Regions from separate parts of the Homo sapiens genome. Here region 1 is linked to region 2. Evidence: promoter capture Hi-C in human tissues and cell types (Jung and others, 2019). All regions are on one chromosome and are shown on one strand. The core of a region is centred on a gene start or on the middle of the fragment in contact, and the rest is flanking DNA. Distances in the headings are between cores, read along the strand shown. Region 1 overlaps KCNQ3 (potassium voltage-gated channel subfamily Q member 3). Region 2 holds the start of OC90 (otoconin 90).

Region 1 (3,423 bases), core at 722-3,221, 67 kb before region 2:
TTTCTCAACAAAACCACATTGTGTATCAGTGGGGCTGCCTACTGAGCTAACATTAGGAAAGGAATGAGATAGTCATTGTGTCTCTAAAACAAAGAATTTAAACAAATATTTAAGGCAAAACCTTTTAAAAGCTCTCCAAAAGACCTCACTTGGCCTGATGTTACTTAGTATCATGCCTCAGTTTCCTTATCTGTAAAAAGTGGTGGTAATCCCAAGTGTAGCATTTCTGATGAGTTATGAATTGGCAGGGAGAAAACACACACACACACACACACACACACACACACACACACATACACAAAGTTAAAATAGTTTCCAATTTATGTAGCCAAGGACAATGGAATTTATCAGAAGTGAAGTGCCCCTCTGGGCAGGAGCTGAGTTCAGTGCCTTTAAAATGAATTTCCAACTCTCATTTCTTCCCATGATACTGAAGTACAAAATATCCATCTAAAATAGAAATTAAAGTCAAGAAGGCACACAGAAATTTTCTAGTCCAAGGACTTCCTTTTATAAATGAAGAATCTTAGGCTCAGGTAAAGTGACATACCCAGAGTCACTCAGTTGTCCCATAGAGAACCAGGACTCAAAAGTCAGGTCTGCCCACTCTCCCTGACCTTGTTTCCCCTCACCACACCATTCTTCCATTTATATAATGCATCCTAGAGATTGTGTCAAGATATATGACTTTGTGTCGCGTGGAAAGCACCCAGTTTATCCAGCAGGAGGGGGATTTCCACTTTTATTGCAAAACATGCTTGCTTGATGCAATGCATTTCAGATCTAGAAAAAAATAATGCAAGCAAGCTACATTTACAGATGTGTAAACAGGCAAAATTTCCAGAACCGTCCAATTTTACTTTTCCAAATTTATGGAACCAACCCAGATTTTTTAAATGAAAATACTAAAACCATATGTAACCGTAAGACAAGCTAAAATGTAAGCAGACAGCCTGGGAAGCACTGCCCTACTGTACAGGTGTGATATTAAGCACAAGCCATCCTCTGGCCTCTTATGAGATGTTGTTATTCTCTGAAAAACTTTGATGGAAAAGGTTTCTGTTAGGCTTAGACTGAATTAGCTAAATGACCATGCCACAGTATTATTGTATCACTCTTCTCACACACCTAGGCACTGGTTGTGGATAGTTGCCATGGTGACAATCAAGATAATCCAGATGACCTAAACAAATGTCTGTATGCAGCTGACACTGCTATTCTCCCTCACAGTCTTGTCAAGAGCCACAGTAGCTATGGCAGACATTTGGTTGATGGTTTCATCATTTCCTAATACGAGAGTCTGGCACTATGTTGGAGAGAGGAATCACTTCCTCAGAGATAGGTTCCTTTCAACTCACATGTCAACAGTTACTGTACAAAAAGCTCAGAATACAGTAATGATTAGAGCTTGACCCCTGACTTTAGGAACTTAGAACCAAAGCCCAAAGTCCCAGGCCAAGGGCAGACATTGTGAGCAGCAGAAGGGTGTTTTTTATGGAGAGCCCCATAAATGGATGGGTGTAGACCTTGAAGTCTGAGATGGGAAATATACCAGAATGCTCAATGCATCAGACATGAAGCCCCACGGGCTTCCATTTGACATGCTGGCAATCTGAAGGACAAAGGGCATGGGTTATTTGGGCCTTTTCCCCACTCCTTCAATATGGCTGAAAGTGCCAGTGGGGATTACAACCTAAGAAACCCTATGCCCCTTCCTGAGGGCTTGATTATTGAATCCTGATCTTCCTGGAATCTTTCACTTGAGATGATCACCTGCCTAACATCCAACATGTTACTATGCTCTTCTTTATGTACATGAGTTACTGGAAACCAACAATAAAGGAGAGTGAGTCATACTCTCCACATATGCGCCAATTAATTTTTTAACTTACTTATTAGTATTCTTGAAGAACTTACTATCTTAAGTATTTTACCAATAGATGATGCATTTTCCAGCAACTCAATGGAGTTCTACCTTAAAGTATTTACCATTGATCCAAAATTGGAGGAACTACCTTAGATTCTTTTAATAACCTAGAAAGGATTGGAGCTTGTATTATTTCCTAAACCATAGGCAGGCAGTCTAGCTTCCCTGCTGGATCATAAGACCAGGACAGCAGAGATTGGGTTTGTATTGATCAGTAGTAGGGAAGTATTGATTGTCTAACATCTAGTAAGTTGTCTTTATCAGTATAGACATAGACAAAATACATGTTTTATGAATGAATAAATAATAAGAACCTTAAGAGCTGTTTTTTTCCCATTTAAGAAAACAAAAAGGAAAAGAGAAAAATGATCTTCTGGAATAACTCTGCTTTGATATTCTCCTTTTGTTCCCCAAAAAATATATTCCAGAAAGGCAAACCAAACCTGCTCAAGTTGCCTATGCACAGACAATCTCAACAATATGGCTCACAGTGAGCAAGCAGAAATTCAGGGTCTGGAATTGAATGTGAGTTATGGGAAGAAACAGTGTGTGCTTTCACAAAGATCCTTTTGTCAGACAAGGGAACAGCATGATAATCCAATGGAACTGGTTAACATGACCCAAGATGACATGACCACAGATATACTAGTCGTTCTGAAACTTGCCCAAGAAATTGCAATCGTTTCAGCAGAACTCCATGAAATATTGACAAATTAATTCCATCATCAAACTAGGAGTGATATTATCAGGTAAAACTATGATCTCATGTATGTATTTGGTCTTTCTGGGTCACAATGTGACATGAAAAATTTTAAAGGTCATATTTTAGCAAGATCAAAATGAATTAGATAAATCAACTTCACAAATGTTAAGCGAAACATGATCCTATTGAGCTGAGAAAGAAGTACTTGAGATCGTTTGAGTTTTGACTATCAAATGTCAGCACAAAAGCAAATATCAAAAGCTTAAGAAAAAAATTATTTCAGGAAAAGAAAAACACATCAAATTGAGAAAGTGTTGTTGAATAACTTTGTTTTTAGAACTGGAAATTTAGGCTTATTAGACATGACATTGATATTACAAAGCCCTAGTTTTCATGAAAACATAACTAGATAACCCCAAGGTGTATAGGTTAAAATGAACTAATTAATCAACAATTATGCATCCTGTGTCTATTTTGTGCAAGGTACTTCCTAGACACTGTAGTTTGAAAGAATAATTTCCTGTAGAAAAACCTAATCTAATAGGACCTACTCATAATTTGGCAAAATCATCCTCATAATTCCATGCTACTGAAATGGGGGTGTAATAAAGAAAAAATCATTTGTTTATTCATTTAACAGGGTTTATTAAGCACCAATATATGCCCAGAACTTTGCAGTGCACTGGAAGTTCAGAGATAAGAAAACCACAGTTTCTGCCATCAAAATGCTAGGAATCTAGAGGTCTCAAACATCAGAGGTCCCTTCAAACTATGTCTACCAGGAAAATAAAAT
Region 2 (3,277 bases), core at 593-3,092:
TGCACAGGTGCACTAGTGCTGTGGGTTTGTGTGAACGAGACATTTAGGTGCTGTCATAATTAAATCTAAAATTTTAAACTCTCATTTAGAACAGACTTTATCCTCTTATGTCTGGGTTCTTGTGAAAACTTCACTCTCACTTTATTCCACCAACAGAATGGTAAAAGGCCAAGGTTCCAGGGATATTGAAGGCCAGTGGTTTTCAATCAGGGGTGATTTGGCCCCCAGGGGACACTTGGCAATGTTTGGAGACATTTTTGGTTGTCACAACAAGGTAGGGAGTGCTACTGGCATCAGCTGAGTAGAGACCTGCGATATTGCAATGCTCGGGACAACTCCTACAAAAAAAGAATAATTTGGCCCAAATGTCAACAGTGCTAAGATTAAGATACTCTGTTGTAAGCTATGGGAAAAAATGATCCTTCTCAAAACCCCATGAAATGTCTCGAACAAGATACCTATGTAGATTGTTATGCCTTTGTATTGCTCAGGCATAATAACAATCTCAGTTATGCTCTTGAGCATAATAACAATCTCAGCTATGCTCTTGAGATGCTGAAAAGATGGATTTTGCTGCACTGAGCCATAGATGCCCACGGGCTTAGTCATTTTAGAGATGGTGGGTCTTTGGTGCTAATGAGAAAATATTACAGACAATGCATCTTCATTCCTCAAATCACATGAGATGCTGAACAATAGTTAATGATCTACAAACACAAGCCTCAATGAATGAGAGTAATTACTTATTTGAAGAAGCCCTTCAATGGGTTCTTCCATAGAGGCTCAATTGTGCCCTGATTTAATCGTTTGAGGAGTCCTGCTTCTTCAGGAGGTGGCCATAGAGTGAGCAACTCAGAGGGTTCACAGCCAGGCTAACCTGCATTCCAGAATGCTTCCATTACACGTGAGCTTCTACAATGCCTCAACCTCAACGACACCATTTTTTCTCATCTGTAAAGTGGAGCTAATTAATCCTTGCTCCTAGGATTATGAAAGCAGTAATGGAAGGGCTGCTGCAGGGATGATGAGGGCAAAATCCTATAAAACACTTGTGGTACATTACACGTACTCAATAAATGCCAGTTCTCCTTTCAAAATCAGGAAAGAAAACCCTTCACAAGGCGATATGAGGAAGTGACAAAAAGAACTAGGACTTAATGAGCCCCCATACCACACACTATATATGGCTTTCTTCAGCCTCGAAATCTTAGTAGGATTAAGCCCATTTAACAGATGTGGAAGCTAAAGCTGAGCAGTGACAAACTCAAGGTCACACTGCTACTCAGTAGCAGGGCTGGCAGAGGAACCTTGGGTGTCTGATTATAAAGCCCCACCTCACCCTACCCCACAGCTTGGGCAGAAAAGCCCTAAAGGAAAGAGGCATCAAATTCCGAGATCTGAGGCCAAGAACATATAAGAAGAATCACGCTAGAAATCCTCTTGCTAAAGAATGAACTAGACCAGACAAAGCCAGCCCTTTATCTTGCAGGAGAGCCCACATGACTTTCATCAGTCTTTCATCCCCCGAGAGTTCCCATGATGACCCTGAGACATAATCCATGGGCCTCCTAGCCTTTGAGGTGAGGTGGGGTAGAACAGGGAACCCATTGTTCTCTAATTAGAGCCTGAGGTCTCCTCTGAGGCTCAAGATGGGGCTTCTTAATATGGAGCCTTCACCTGTTCCAAGCTATAGTATTATGATGCCTCCTCCCTTCAGAGGCAGCCCACCTGCCAACATTCATGAAAGGCTTCCTTCTTGATGTGAGGAGTGGGGAGAGGCATCACATGGCTAAGGGTCTTTCCTTGGGGTATAAAGGACTCAGTCTGCACCTGTTCAAACCCTAGCATCATTCATCCAGCTGCACTCCAGTGGAGCCTTCACGGTAGGCATCTGTTATTCCTGATGGTTGGGGAGACAGAGAGCAGGGGAGGGAGGGAGGGAGGAAGACAGCAAGTAAAGGAGGGAAATGAATGGGAGAAGAGAAGAAGGGAGGGAGAAAGAGAAGGAGGGGGAGAGGGAGGGATGGAGGAAAAGAGTGAGGGAGGGAGGGAAATGGTTGGGAGATGGAAAGAGGCAGAAAGGGTAGGAGGAAGGAGGGGAGGGAAGAAAAGTAGGAGAAATTGATGAAGGAAGAAAAGGAGGGAGAAAGAGAGGGTAGAAGGGAGGGAGGGAGAGAGGGAAAGAGGGAGGAAGGGAGAGAAGAATGGAGGGGAAATGAGGAGATAAATGAATGGAGGATAAGGTGGTAGGGGATGCTCTCAGGGCTGTCTGAGACCTGGATGTTGCTCCAGGATATAGCTGAAAACCCAAATTGCTCTGAGTCGATCTGTGAAAAGATGCAATGCCAGACAGAGAGCACCTGGCAAATTTACCCGGGGGAAAAATCCACCACTTCACATTAGTGAGGATCCTACATAGCCCTGGGCAATGACCCCGCCCACGGCACCTGGTGTGGAAACACAATCAGCATTAATTATGGGCAGTCCTCACTGAGCACTGAGCAAGTGCCGGAGATGGTGTTCTACCTTTATAAGACTCATCAGATTTAACCCTCATGATTCCCTGATGAAAAAACACCATTATATGCATTTCGCTGCCCAGGAAAATGAGTTCCAGGCATCTTCAGTGCCTGGCTCAGGGCACTCGACAAGCAAAAGGCAGAGCCTGAACTCCCTGACCCCAGCCCAGGTCTGTCCGACCAGCAAGGCCTTGGGCTCAGACACTGGCTATGCAGCCATGAGACCGGCCATTGGGAGACAGCTAGGGGAGCCGGGACTCCAAACCTGGCATGCAGACCAAGGCGAGGCTTCGGGAGCCTTCTCAGGCCCACAAGGACAGCACTGACCCATGAGGCCACGACAGCCCCAGAGACTTCCTTGGGCAAATTAGGAGAAGGAGGTCTTTCCTCCAGGTAGACACAGCCCCACAGCCAAGGGCGCCTGACTTGGCCAACAGGAGGATACTGGATTTCAGAAGCAGCCCCACACCATCCCACCCACGTACCCTAATGTGCACGTACCCCAGATTCGGGTCATCCTCACTGTTGCCCAGGGCTGACCACGTGCTTCTAACTGGCACCTTCTAGCTGGCACTGACTTTCCTTCTTTGTGCGCAGCAAGGAAGCTGTCACCTGCTGTGTTTCACCACACCCTAGCAAGAAGCTGGCCACCCTAAGGGTCTTCCCAAGCAAGTACTACCGATAATTGTGACAGTTACGCAGTGAGTCATCACTGGAATGCTTAGTTTGTCTCAAAGGACCGGCCTAGCAGTTTAGGG

The links. The method cuts DNA at HindIII sites, captures the fragments that hold promoters and counts their contacts. A contact is called where the count stands out against the background at its distance.
Region 1: a contact is called between a fragment that was not itself captured here and the fragment with the promoter of OC90 in region 2, in 2 of the 25 tissues and cell types used here (H1 embryonic stem cells and hippocampus).

The regions. Positions count from the first base shown.
Region 1 is chr8:132,125,379-132,128,801 of GRCh38, reverse strand. KCNQ3 (potassium voltage-gated channel subfamily Q member 3) reads left to right here. Exons shown (of 15, transcript NM_004519.4): 15 at 1-3,423. Among named protein-coding and RNA genes, the nearest start is that of HHLA1, 16 kb to the right of the region's middle. The HindIII fragment of the contact is 6,054 bases long and covers 1-3,423 here.
Region 2 is chr8:132,057,947-132,061,223 of GRCh38, reverse strand. It overlaps OC90 (otoconin 90), which reads left to right and starts at 1,842. Exons shown (of 14, transcript NM_001080399.3): 1 at 1,842-1,883. RefSeq lists enhancers at 2,195-2,771, 2,772-3,277. The HindIII fragment of the contact is 9,699 bases long and covers 1-3,277 here.